3 separate regions of the Homo sapiens genome follow, and all the other regions are linked to region 2. The links are contacts of gene promoters, found by promoter capture Hi-C in human tissues and cell types (Jung and others, 2019). All regions are on one chromosome and are shown on one strand. The core of a region is centred on a gene start or on the middle of the fragment in contact, and the rest is flanking DNA. Distances in the headings are between cores, read along the strand shown.

Region 1 (4,720 bases), core at 668-3,167, 520 kb after region 2:
AAGACAATACTGTTTATTTATTTAGGGCTCATAACCTTAGGATTTTTAACTTTCAGGAAATACCAGCCTAAAGTAAATTATTAATTCAAGGATGCTAGATAAAGACTCTTCATGAAAAAGAAACGCTATACCCTGCTGTGTTGCAGGCTCTCAAACTGTCCCTCAAAACGTTCCTAATACTGCTCACTGCACTAATTTTTTTTTCCTTTGTCGTCTCCCTTTCTATAGTCAGAAGCTATCTAGTCCCTCCCTCTTTAGTCTCCAGGGAAAAGGTGTTAGCTCATTTACTTGTCATTATTGAGCTTCTTTCTTTCCCACAAAAGCCAGTCTATTTATCATTCTTCTTTTTAGGCTTGGACAAAAAAGAGAAAACTTTATACTTTTTTTTAAGCAGAGGCACATTAATATTAAATCCCTTAAGCAGGAATTTCAAGGAGAATGTCTCAGAACAACATTTAAACCAACATCATAAATGCTTCCTCCTTTTAATAAAAGAAACTCTCTGAAATAATGCTGTCCTCAAGAGGGTCATCTGATAGTTTTGGTACTATCTTCTCATTTCTACTATCTTTCTACAATTGTTGTTGTGAAAAGTATTAGAGAAATAGATAGATGCTCTACACAAAATCTTCACAATATGGTCAACTTCCTTTCCCCCTCAAGCCCACCTTTCATGCATGCACACATCTATGCTTTGTTTTTAACTTCTTATATTCAATTTTTATTCTTGTTATTGAATGAAGCTCTGATTGGTTTACTATATGACAAATATTCTTTGCATTTTAAGAATCTCAGGTAGCTCTCTATCTTTTTTCACATTGGTTAGAGAGGCAGGGATCAAAGTACAAAACTGGGACAGTCACTGCTTATGTTTGTGCTTTATCTCATTAAGTGCTGATCACCAGGAAGGCAAACAGCCTGTCACGAAATTTGCCTTGCAAAGAATATAATAAAGAAATCTTATGAAAAGAGGCTGAACAGAAGGTATGTTTAATCTGTTGTAATGTTGGTTAGCCCCAGTTTCAGACCAAGAGTGATGATACTTGGAAAAAAAATTGGGAGTCTGCCTGCGGGCAACATTTACCCCGATGTAGAGATTGCTACAGAAACCTAACTGTGGGAAGTTTTCAACACATAAGTAAGGATTTATTAAAGGAATTAATATCTTTGAAGGCTCAGAAAGCAATCCTATTTTCCTACAAGATGGATGAAAGGCAGAGATTTCAAAACATTTGCTAGAAAACATCAATAGCCAATCCTGCTGATTTAATTTTTTCAATCCCTCAGGCATCAAAAGAAGTTGTGACTTGTCTACATTGCCTCGAAAGCAAAGCAATATTGTAAATTAAAAATGACTGGAGCTTAGCTGGCTGCATTTCATTTTTAATTAGTTGAATTTTCAAATATTTATCAACATTTCTTAAGCTCAGAAGCTAAAGAACTTCCCCTCACATTTTTTTTCTGAAGAAGGTTGGTGATATTCACTTACACGTCAAGGAAAAAGTCGTTAGATTTAGCTGGCTATCACAAATACTAGAAGAAATGGTATTTAGTCATCTCCATTTCTCTTCTTTTTTATTCTTGAGCAAGCAGAGACTTCCTATTCTTTTTAACCAGTTGGGAACTCACAAAACATAAACTCAGAGATTGATGGTAAAAATGAAAACAGATTCTGACAACATGTTACATCCCAATCACAAAAGTGTAACAAAGGCAAAAAATTTAATCCTCATTAGTGTAGTAGTGAGAAACAAAAAACCAAATTTTTTTTTTTTAAAGCAGCTGATTTTGCTTTAGGCATTTCGTCGAGGTGTGTGGTTAATTCATAAGCGGCAGGGGCAAGGTAGCCCCAGATTTTGGAATTGGTTTGCCTCTGAGAATAAAAATTAAAATGAAAAGAATAAAAATGTAATAGATGAGGCTAATCATCTATTCAAAAATATATATTTTATTGACTACTCTTTTATGTCAGGTACTATTTTAAGCACTTGGGATAAAGTGGTGAACCAGAAGTCAAGGTCCCTGACATCATGAAGCTTATATTCATTTATAGAAATATTTAGTCCTAACCAATACTCTGTGAATGGTAGAGTTCTAGGAGCATCTAAACTCTTTTCAAGGTAACAAGTATATTTTCAAGAAAATGTGTCTGTATTAGTATATCTAAATCTTTAACCTTGTCAATTATATTTAATCTTACCTGAAAAATGTGTTAAAAAAGGAGACTAGAAAAAGGAGAGGCCAAGAGCAGGAATTTCTCAGTGTGTCTTCAGCATGGCCCTGGGCAGAGGAAGCAACTTCCACTCCCCTTAGCAGCTTCCAATCCCCTTTGCAAGTCTATTCTCAACAGTGAAGATGGATACATCAGACAAGCTTGATGCCATTAGTAATGGTGATCCAACTAACTCTCACTGCCATGAATCCAAAGTGATCAAGCAATCTTTGGTTACAGTGTGGCTTCCCATATGGATTTTCCCACAGAGAGAGGATGTGTTCTTTACAGCCCCAAGGACCCCAGTCCTTTTAAAGCTATAGTTCTTAAATCAGTCAGCATTAAATTCTTAATTAATTAATTCTTAAATCGGTCAGCATTAAACTTAAATTCTTAATTAATTAATTCTTAAATCAGTCAGCATTAAACTTAAATCAGTCAGCACTCTAGTTTATATTTAAGTATCTCAGGGGCTTGATTATGAATCTGAACATTTTTGACTATTCTGACAAAACTGAATTTCTAGAATGATAAAGTTTTAGCTCAGACCCTCGAACAGTATTTCGCCAAGAAAAGTTAAAATTTATGGCATGAGAATCATCTAGGGAGCTTGTTAAACATACAGATTCCTGAGACTCATATTGTACTTATACTAAATCAGAATCTTTAAAGATGAGGCTCAAGATCTGCATTTTACCAAGGCTTCCAAATGATTCTAATGTACTTTAATAAAGCTGGAAAGTCACTGTCTGAGAAGCAAGGGATCGCATCTAATGAAGCTCTGTTTGGGCATTTGGCCAGTTTCCGACATATCATCTCCATCTTTATACATTGTAACAAAGTGTTTCAGCGAATTCCTGTCAAGGCTTGGTGTCTTTCACAATCCGGCCTCACTTTTCCAGTCTCATTTCTCACCTTTCCTCTCAATCACTTTATGCTTCAACACTCTGAATACACGATTTTCATGGCTCTAGGCCTCTACATTACTTGAGGGTTTTTCTTTTTGGGGGAGAAGAGGGGGTGGACGACAAATAGCATCCCAGTTCCTTGCCTGAGTTCTAAACCAACTGAAGGAGGCAGTTTGAGAACAAAATATCACTATTATTACCAACAATGCCTAGATTGGAGAATGTGGCTTATATATGGAAACTAAAAGCCTTCTTAATTCTGAAGCCCAGAATTAGACATACTTACCCATCCTGTCTCAGGAAGAACAGGATAACTACTGGCCTCATCTCTCATAAGCAACCAATTATTTCTAAGCTTATGTAAGGCCAAGAGCAGACCAGGTCTATCAGACAGAGGAGGGAGGAAGGAAGTGGCTGAGGCTGAGTCAAGCATACCAAGTTCCTGCTCCCTAACTCATTAGTTAAAATAAGCAATTCCTCTACAACTGGGAAGAAATGATGAGTGAAGGGATGGAAAGAGTCCAGGACCATTGCTCTAATGGATGTCCCTTGACAAGAAAGGAAACAACTGGAGTGGAGAGTAATGCACCCCCATGACAGCATGCCCTACTGGTGCTTGAGGTACCCTATTACTCTCCAATCCTTTCTCTTAGTTTGACTACCTTATTCCTACTCATCTTTCAAGATATAGCACAAATGTTCACTCCTCTGTGAAGCTTGAGGAACTGAGGGGAGTACTCCCACCTTAATGCTGTCATAGGACTTTAAATGACTTTTATTATGGTACTTTTCATGTAATACACTTAGCTATTTTCTTTCTCTTATGAGTGCAGGGATTGTGACTTATATGTCTTTATATTTCCATAGTAGGTGTCCGATGAATTTTTGCTGAATGACTGTGAAAAAGAAGGTACATTCAAATATTTTTAAAGCTTAGTATTTTTAAGCCTGATTATAGCACCAAGACCAACAAGAAGACTAGTATTTTCCTTTATAGGATTTTCTTTTCTGAAAAAATTGACTAACAAATCTGGTCAAGGCTGATATTGCCTATTTAAGCCCCATCATAGAAACCCAATTGGCATCATCTTATTAACATGGCATATATGACTGATGATCTGATCCTAAAACAGGCCTTCTTTCAGTTACTGTAGCTTTACCTACTCAGGATAAACTAGTAGGTAATAATCACTTAAAAAAATTCTCCAATGAAGTAGAAACTACTAATAGAGAAGTTATTTCAGGTAAAACTTGAAATTTCAAAGTTCAATTATAAATTTATATTATGATTAATGATTTGCATGCATGTTTTATAATGGGAATGTTTCTCTTTCTTTTCTTTCTTTCTTTTTTTGAGACGGAGTCTTGCTCTGTTGCCCAGGCTGGAGTGTAGTAGCAGGATCTCAGTTCACTGCAACCTCCGCCTCCTGGGTTCAGGCGATTCTCATGCTTCAGCTTCCCGAGTGGCTGGGATTACAGGCGCCCACTACCATGCCTGGCTAATTTTTGTATTTTTAGTAGAGATAGGGTTTTGCCATGTTGGCCAGGCTGGTCTCGAACACCTGACCTCAGGTGATCGACCCGCCTTGGCCTCCCAAAT
Region 2 (4,919 bases), core at 1,337-3,836:
AGACCAGCCTAGCCAACATAGTAAAACCCCGTCTCTACTAAAAATACCAAAATTAGCTGGACGCGGTGGTTCGTGCCTGTAATCCCAGCTACTCCAGGGGCAGGAGAATCACTTGAATCCAGAAGGCAGAGGTTGCAATGAGCTAAGATCGTGCTACTGCACTCCAGCCTGGCGACAGACTGAGAATCCGTCTCAATAAATAAATAAATAAACAAAGCTGTGTATCTGGTTTTCTATACTTTCCAGGTCAAATCTCACTAGCAGATGTTCCTGTTATCTTCAGTTTGACATCTTATCTAAAATGACTCCTAAAATGTGTAATAATGTTAATTATAATATCTAAACCTACTGACTCTAACATCACAAAGAATTTTAAGAGGTCGAGGTTAAAAATCTAAAATTGTAAGTCATCAGCTAACAATGACATTTCAAGTCATGAGCTTGGATAAAAATAACCATGGAAATCACCATTCAGCAAAATACAGGCATAGTGGCCAGGCGTGGTGGCTCACGCCTGCAATCCCAGCACTCTGGGAGGCCCAGGCAGGAAGATCACCTGAGGTCAGCAGTTTGGGACCAGCCTGGGAAACATGGTGAAACTCCGTCTCTACTACAAATACAAAAATGAGCCGGGCGTGGTGGCGGACGCCTGTAATCCCAGCCACTCAAAATCGCTCGAATCAGGGAGGTGGAGGTTGCAGTGAGCTGGATGGCGCCACTGCAGCCCCGCCTGGGCAACAAGAGTGAAACTCTGTCTCAAAAAATAAATACACACACATACACACACACACACACACACACACACACACACACACACACACTCTCGCATACAGGCATAGGATAGTTTGCTATAGTTAACAAACATAAGAATATCCTATTTTCTTGAGCTTTCATCAGGCTTTACTTTGCCAGAATACATCTATCCCATTTTTCAGTAACTAGATCTAGCTACCACATTTCCTCAGTTTTAACGTGTGTGTTTAAAGAGACAGGGTCTTGCGTCGCTCAGGCTGGAGTGAAGCAGCGGGATCAAAGCTCACTGCAGCCTTTTTCTGTCTATAAATCTTCAACACTTGGCTGCGCTGCAATCTCTCTGAGCCTGCCCGATTCGTGAATCATTCTTTGCTCAAAATGTTAAATTTAACTTGGCTAAGGTTTTTCGTTTAACACTTCCTACTAACGCTACAGCCTAAAACCTCTCCTGCAAAATGCTTTTTCAGGTGGCAACGTACCAATTCTAACAAGTTTGTGGGAGTAATGGGGAGGAGGGCTAACCCTCTATTTTCTTTCAGAAAAAGGGTTAGGCACAAGGAGCTCTAAAGGCTTGTCCGAAGTCTGCTGAAAACTCACAAACCACTCAGAACCAGGTTTCCCACACCCAATTAATTCCAAGTGGTACTGTATCCGATTACCCCCATTTTCCAAGAGATAGTTTATTTTTTCCCCTCTTTTCCCCTCCCCACTACACTTTCCACTTAGCCCTTTTTGAACTGCAAAATAACCTCTCAACTCCCCTCACCAGACCATTCTCTACAGAGCAAATTCATCTACGAGATCCAAGACGCAACTCCCACCGCCAGGCGGTCGCCTCAGAAGGGTAAGCAGAAAGCATGCCCACTTGGCCACTTTTACAACTTATTTCTGCTCAGAAATGCACCAACTCAACTACCCGGTAGATAAGGCACCAGCTAGCAGAGACCTCTTGCTCATTTCCTCTTGTACCTTATAAAATGCCCGCTTTTTTGCTCCAAAGACGAAGCGGGCTGGCTTCAGAAATAAAATCCCTCTTCTTGTATACTAGGGCTCGCTCTTGTTAATTGGTGTCTACGTGTGGCGAGCAACTAACTCTCTTTTCCGTTAGAGCACTCAAAGCCCTGGTCAATCTACCCCCCAAGACAGCAGAGACCAGCACAACGATCCCAAGGAAGGCTGTTGGCTTCACCCCGCTTAAGTCCTCAAAGTCAGCGCCTGCAGCATATCCTTGCCCCCACCACCTGCCTCTAGCTCTGGTCACTTACACTTACGGTTAGTTCGCATCCACTGTAACAGCGCCTGGCGGTCGGCAGGAGCCACAGTGCGAAGCGGCCGCAGCATCACTGCCTGCCTCGCAGTGGGAAATTTTACCTTGCTGGAGCAAGCCGCGCAGGCACTGGCTGGCATTGCGCATGCGCAAGCAGAGACCGCCCCACCCTCCGCGGAACAAGCCTCCGGTCTGCAAAGCCCTAAGCCCCGCCCCTCTACGGAGGTCTCACGTGCGCCTGGGGATCCCTGCCTTCAGTCACACCTCTATCTCTCATCTTTCCGCTCTTAGCTGGGAGTGCTCCGCCTAGTCACTTTTCTTAAGGTGGCTCGTCGAGGCCTGACTTCTTCCCCGAAATCACGTCCCTAGACAGCCTCCTATTTTACCACTAACTTTACTCCTGCAGTTATTCAGCGGTAGGAAACTGAAACCAAAAACCAGTGTAAGCAAGTAAACATCTAAACTGTTTCAGGAGCCGCGTAGAAGGAACGCGGCGGTGTGCCCCGGAAGCGGAAGTAGATTCTCCTATAGAAAGGCTGGACTACGCGGAGTGGTGACGTTTCCTCATTGGGCGGAAGGTTCGCTGGCACTCCGTTGGTCTTCCAGCTGGTGGGAGTTGACGACGTGGTGCTGGGCGTTGGGACCCTACTTTATCTAGTTCGGGAAGTTGGGTTGTGGGGTCATACCTGTCTGTCTGCTCCCAGCTTTCTTGGGTTTCTTCCGACGGCGTGGGGCCTCGCTAAGGAATTCCCGGCCCCTCAGGGCCACGGCTTTAGCGGTGTCTTTTGCGGTAAGTGTCTGCTTTTTCCCGCCCCAGACTACGGAGGGGGAGCGAGGGGCAGCCCCAGCGCTGCTCAGGAGGCGAGAGACTCCGGGGGAAGTCGGCCTCCGTGGCCACCGGCCATCGTTACCGAGACTGAGTTTCTGTGGCTCTTTATCTCGTCTTCCATGAGAAGTTTTATTAAAGATGCGCTGTGCCCCTTTTGAGTTGTCTTCCGATTTACCTGAGCCAAATAAGATGTAGGCAGTTGCAGGCCTGAGTCTTCGTTTTGCTTTCCTGAGCAAGAATTTAGATGAAGCTACTTCCCCGAAAATCCTTTTACTTGTACGAGACTTTTATTTTTCCTATGTGTTTGTAGTGCTTAACACAATGTCCTGCGTGTAGTAGACGTTCAATAAACGAATATGGAATATCAGTTGAATGCCAATGATGATTTAAGATAGACTGATAGCTCTCTCTGTACCATTTGACGCTGCTGACCATCCATTTCTTGAAACTTTCCCCTGCTGCCTTTCTTCATGCTATCCTCACCTGATTCTTTCACATGCTTAATTTAACAAAATATATACTTGTTCTTGGCTACAAGGATACAGAAATGAATAACACTAACTCTGCCATTGAGAAGCTAACGCACATAAATACACATTATATCAAGATGGGTAATGAGAAACACTAGTTGCATATAAAGAGCTGTAGAAAGCTGTGGGAGAGCTAAAGTGCTCCTTAGGTGCTTTGTGACCCTGAGCCAGTTTCTATTCCAATCTAGCCTCAATTTCCTCATCTACTTAATAGGCTTGTTTTGAGGAAGAAAGGAGATTAGGTAAGAGGTTTGGTTTGGTTTAGTGCCTAGAATACAGCAATCGTGGTGCCAAAGGGGAGGGAAATATTTCCCTCAAATCGCTTTTTCTCAGTTTTTTGATATGGCCAACTGGTATTTTCTACCTTAATATAGAGTACTATGCAAAAGCATCTTCAAGTCTTCCTTCCAGATTACTCCTCTGTCCCCATCTATTTGGAAATTCTGGACCTGCCACAGGATTACAGTAAGATAACCATAAATGTAGCTTTTTAAAAATTGATTTTCTCCTATGTGCCATGGAGAAAGGGAAAGGGAATTAGTAAAAGCTCCTATCTCTTTGGTTATTTTCAGTCTTGGTTAACGCCGTCCTTTTAGTTGGCCCTCAGTCATTGCTATAACCCAAATGGTCTTCCACAGGCTCTCCTCGAGGCTTCTCGCTTGCTTCCATGGCATTGTCCCTATATGCCAACCATGTCCAAACCTTATTCTTTTCATTTCCAAACCTTGTTCTTTTCCAAACCTTATTTGCTCTGTCGCCCAGACTGGAGTACCGAGGCACCATCTCGGCTCACTGCAACCTCCGCCTCCCAGGTTCAAGCAATTCTCCTGCCTCAGCCTTCCGAGTAGCTGGGATTACAGGTGCCTGCCACCACGCCCAGCTAATTTTTGTGTTTTTAGTAGAGATGGGGTTCCACCATGTTGGCCAGGTTGGTCTTGAACTCCTGACCTGAAGTGATCCGCCTGCTTCGGCCTCCCAAAGTGCTGGGATTACAGGTGTGAGCCACCATGCCCTGCCTAAACCTTATTCTTTAGCCTCCATCTCATGAGTTGATAGTTCTGTACTTTCCCCTAAAACTTGCAAACTCATTAGGTCCAAAACCAAATGCACTGTCTTCACCTTCCTTTTTTTTTTTTTTTTCACTATGACATATGTCATGCATACGAAAGTGTATAAAAGCAGTGATTGTCAGTGCGTTTTTGAGTTTTGACCTCTGGTTGAATTTTGTGATACAAGTAGGTTAAATTTTTAAAAGGATTATAAGGGCTGTGAGCAATGGCTCACGCCTGTAATCCCAATACTTTGGGAGGCTGAGGCTGGCAGATTGCTTTAGCTCAAGAGTTCGAGACCAGCTTGGGTAACATGGCGAAACTCCCTGTCTCAACAAAAGAGACAAAAATTAGCCAGGCTTAGTGGCGCCGCCTGTAGTCCCAGCTAGTTGGAGGGATAATGAAATGAACATCTATGTACACATCCTTCATAAAAAGTGAAACATTAAAAATAATACATTAAGTCCCTTTGACCTCTTCTCTATTAACTC
Region 3 (4,390 bases), core at 2-2,501, 710 kb after region 2:
TTTATAAAATGGAGATAGTCATTCAAAGTATTTTTGGGATCCATGCTACTATGGCTGAAAAAAGGCTAGTCCCTCTGCAATTTCATTCATATCACCCTATTTGTATGAGGTCCAAATGGACCTACTTTATACTAAATTGAGATCAACATAGGTTTGTATTATGCCAAGATTCTAGTATATTCCTAGTGATATACTAGTAGGCTCTCAACATAGGTTAAATATATAGTATCTCCTGAAGCTGAAACAATTAACTTTTTGTCCTTAAACTGAGGGGAATGTGCAACTTTAAAAAATGACATTGTTTTTCTTCCTCATGCACTCCACTGAGAAATTTTTCTAAGTGAAAAGCGAAACATTTCCTTACAAACTTCACTTTGATGCACTTATACTCATTAAGCGTTTGTTAATACAGCAGATAACTAACTCATATCTGTGCATCTTGACAAACATAAATATTTCGGTTTTTTACATCTGCCATAAGAGATCATAAGAACTTCTGCCTCAATGACAGAGATTATATTCAGCATGCACTCTAAATTTCTTTCCACACAATATTCTAAAGAACTCAGCAAAGGATAAAGACTGTATAGCTGTTCTATAAGAATTCTTACGAATTTTATAGCTTGGAATTTATTTTACCAAAGGTCAAAATCAAGATTTCAAAACATTAAAATCATAAAAACATTATGACACTAGCAAATGTACAAATGTCAGAAAAAAATAAAATATTAGTTTTAATTTTTAATTTCTTTTATAGATATTTCACAATTTTTCCATTCTAAAGAAGCCAGGAAAGATTATTATGATGTTCTGTGTTTAGGAATTCCTTCCCAAACTCAGCCCTCACTCCTTGTATATTAGAAAACGTAACCATTATTTCAGCCTATGTTTTTTTTTTTTCCTAAAACTTGTTACCATATATGACTATCTAAAACTTCTGTGCAAGCTTAAGAGGGAAAGAGCTTTAAAAAAAAAAAATGTAACTGGTTTTTTTCTACCAATATTGTAGTACCGGAGAATTTAAATTTAAACAATGTTTTTAAAAATTCTTAAGATTTAAATATAGTTCTTTCATGGCACATAATAATACTAACTACATAAAATCAAAGAAGAAAATAACACTGACAGGAAACCAACTTTATGCTAAATTCAGATCAAGAGGGCTGAATTATGTCAATACAAATGGCACTTGAATTGAGCATAATTGACTCTAATAAGCCTTACATTAGTTGAGCAAATATATACAGCTGAACTTTACTGAGAAAAAGACTAAATAATAACTAAACTATATATAGTATTTTCCACATGCCAGGTATTGTTGTAAGCATCTGACATATCATTCATTTAATCCTCACAACAACCCCATGAAGTAGGTGCTATGCCTATTTTATAAATGAAGAAACTCTTTAAGTGACTTGTCCAAAATTACACAACTACAAAGTGAGGAGTTGTGGTGTCAAGTAAGGCAGAAATTAATCTTTACTCTTAATCTCTTGAATAATACATCATATATGTTTTGTACTCATGAAATAATTTATTAATTTTTAAATAAAACTTGGTAAAAATTAATTGTATTATTAAAAAACCATAAAGCCAGGCTTTAGTTATATCTCAATATAAACAAAAAAGAATTTTAAAAAAACCACAGAGCAGCATAGTGATTTATCTCTATAAAGATAAGAATGTTAGAAATAAAAATCTAACTAAAACAAATGTTAGTAAATTATACAGAAGGAACCAATAAAAAAACTTTGAATTGCTAAAAATAATGGTGGCATCAGGTTTAAATAAAAATGCCCTCAAAACAATTTAATTATGCTTCTTATATTTTAACTTAAAAAATGAAAGCTTTTAAATAAAATTTTATATATTTTTCTCTTTCTTTTCTTTTTCTTAAGGGAAACCAACTGTGTCCTCTTACTCTCCCAGAGGAAGAGAAGAACGATCACCCATGTTCAGAGAAACTCCTCTACTAACATACCTTAGAAATTATGCTTGAAAGTATAGTCTTTTCAATTAAATGTTAATCTAAAGCATTAGAAACCACTTAATGAGTGAAACAATAAAAACGTTGTTTTCAAGAGATTTACACAAACTGCTTTTGAACATTGAGAAAATGCTTTGGTAAAATAAATTTAAATTTAGAGTTTAAAAACTCTATAAAGTTACAGAAATGTCAAGTTTTATCTCTGGGTTTCCTTAATACTGTTTAGCATTAAAATGGGTCAATTATTTCTAGATTAAAAAACCGGTTTTTTCCCGGAAATATTTTGTTCAAAAAGTTTCCTGTGTTAGTTTGAAAGGAAAGCTGTACATTAAAGTATACTGTCAGCTTATAAAATGTTAAGAAAAAAGTACTCCTTTCCACTAGATTTAAGTCTCTTGAGGATTTTTGTTTTGTTCATTGCAATATCTCTATTGATTGAAAGAGGACCTGTCACATAAGTATGGGCTTAATAAATACTGGTAGAAGAAAAGCTCGCCTTAAAAAAAAAAAGTAGCTGCTTATTGGTAAAAAGCAAGTTAGTTACTCACAAACTCTTCAGTTAAAATACTAACATATCACTAGAAATTTTAATAATTTCTGAAATGAATCATAGAATCAAGGGCCAAAATCCCCTTTACTAAAGTTAAATTATTTTACTGGTCAAGCACGAACGTTAGCTATCAGTAATATTTTTATGGTCCCTAAATTCATAATATCATTTAAACTAGTTTACATAGAAATTGATGCCATTTTGAAACTCAGTTTTTTTCTGCTAATTACCTAAGTTTTTGTCTATTTGGGCAACAACGGCAATGTACTTCAAGGTAAGTAAAAACGATAGAGCATCTATGTTTCAAATATTATTAACAGAGGCTATTAAAATTCTATCTTTTTAAGATTAGATGTTCAATTTGCAGGTAATTCAAAGCAGTTTTTACATTATTGTAATCATATGAAAAGACTTAAAAGCAACAAATCAAGCTCAATAGTTTTCATTTAAACCACTAAAATTTAGCCCAGTCGACTATCTTCTCTTTTATTCTAATATTGTTTTCCTGATTTTAAAATTTTGAACATAAACTACCAATACATTTTTTATGTTAAGAAAAGTATAGTGTTTTGCTTATGATTATGCTATATAATGTCATGTTTAAGTTAGCTTCACATTTTTCTTGAGATGTTCTTTTTAAAAAATTAATGCAGGCCAGGCGCAATGGCTCACACTTATAATTCCAGCACTTTGGGAGGCCCAGGTGGGTGGACCACCTGAGGTCAAGAGTTCGAGATCAGCCTGGCCAACATGGTGAAACCCCATCTCTACCAAAAATTAAAAAAAAATTAGCTAGGCATGGTGGCGGACTTCTGTAGTCCCAGCTACTCGGGAGGCTGAGGCACAAGAATTGCTTGAACCCAGGAAGTGGAGGTTGCAGTGAGCCAAGATTGCACCGCTGCATTCTAGGCTGGGCGACACAGCAAGACTGTGTCTCAAAAAAATTAACGTAAATTATTCCAGGAAAAAAAAATTAATTTGCCAGGAGGCTGAGGTGGGAGGAATGCTGGAGCCCAGGAGTTCCAGGCTGCAGTAAGCTAGGATGGCACCACAGCAATCAAGCCTGGGCAACACAATGAGACCCTATCTCTTAAAAAAAAAAAATCTAATTGGAATTATGCTATAATCAGCAGATTACAAGTGGAAAATATGTAAAATATTAATATCCTATTCTACACTGATGACAGGAAAAAATTCTTGATTGTATAAAGAAGGGCCTACTTCTTTGATGAGATGAAAAATTCTCCTTATTGGGCAGAATTTAGGAAAAGGATAGGCCTGTGAGACATACTATTTTATTTTTCATTGACAGTCACAAAACAGAAGTATAAAGAGCTCAATTCAAATAATAACATATCGTTAATAAAAAGAGATCAGTCCCCAACATTAGCAGTCTACATACTATAGCCTAGATAGACCAGAGTCCAATAGCAACAAAAATGACAAATCAGTTTTGGGAACTGGTTGAAAGAAACTGGGTCTGTAAGCTTAATTTCAGGATGAGAAACTCATAGTACTTGATTAGAAAATACTAAATAAGAAACATTTGTGGAAGTATACACAAAGCTGCCTACCATGTTTATATACTTTTATATTCCTTTTTTCACTAAAGTGTTACTTTTGGCAGTAAAAGTAATTTGCTTAAGAACGATGATTCAGATTTCTGGCTTCTCTCTTATCTGTTTATCAGGAAAATAATGACTGTCAGGCTGGGTTACCAAATGTCTACAATCTAGTGCAGTAATGATAAGTAATTATCAAAGGCCAATGAGAGAGAAGCCAAGGAGTGTACTTGCCCAGACACCAGAATAAATTATATTAGATGTTTGTGCAAGCCAACATATTGTATCAAA

The links. Contacts are between HindIII fragments. The study calls those that stand out against the background at their distance.
Region 1: a fragment that was not itself captured here is called in contact with the fragment with the promoter of SRP54 in region 2 in 1 of the 25 tissues and cell types used here (hippocampus).
Region 3: a contact is called between a fragment that was not itself captured here and the fragment with the promoter of SRP54 in region 2, in 1 of the 25 tissues and cell types used here (heart left ventricle).

The regions. Positions count from the first base shown.
Region 1 is chr14:35,503,610-35,508,329 of GRCh38, forward strand. No RefSeq gene overlaps it. Among named protein-coding and RNA genes, the nearest start is that of INSM2, 28 kb to the right of the region's middle. The HindIII fragment of the contact is 3,476 bases long and covers 180-3,655 here.
Region 2 is chr14:34,980,406-34,985,324 of GRCh38, forward strand. SRP54 (signal recognition particle 54) reads left to right here and starts at 2,587. Exons shown (of 16, transcript NM_003136.4): 1 at 2,587-2,810. It overlaps SRP54-AS1 (SRP54 antisense RNA 1), which reads right to left and starts at 2,161. Exons shown (of 5, transcript NR_151701.1): 1 at 2,019-2,161. RefSeq lists a silencer at 558-852 and enhancers at 1,738-1,787, 1,906-2,607, 1,998-2,087, 2,268-2,767, 2,798-3,057. The HindIII fragment of the contact is 37,786 bases long and covers 1-4,919 here.
Region 3 is chr14:35,691,606-35,695,995 of GRCh38, forward strand. The region is part of intron 17 of RALGAPA1 (Ral GTPase activating protein catalytic subunit alpha 1); the gene reads right to left. Among named protein-coding and RNA genes, the nearest start is that of SNORA101B, 69 kb to the right of the region's middle. The HindIII fragment of the contact is 3,370 bases long and covers 1-2,936 here.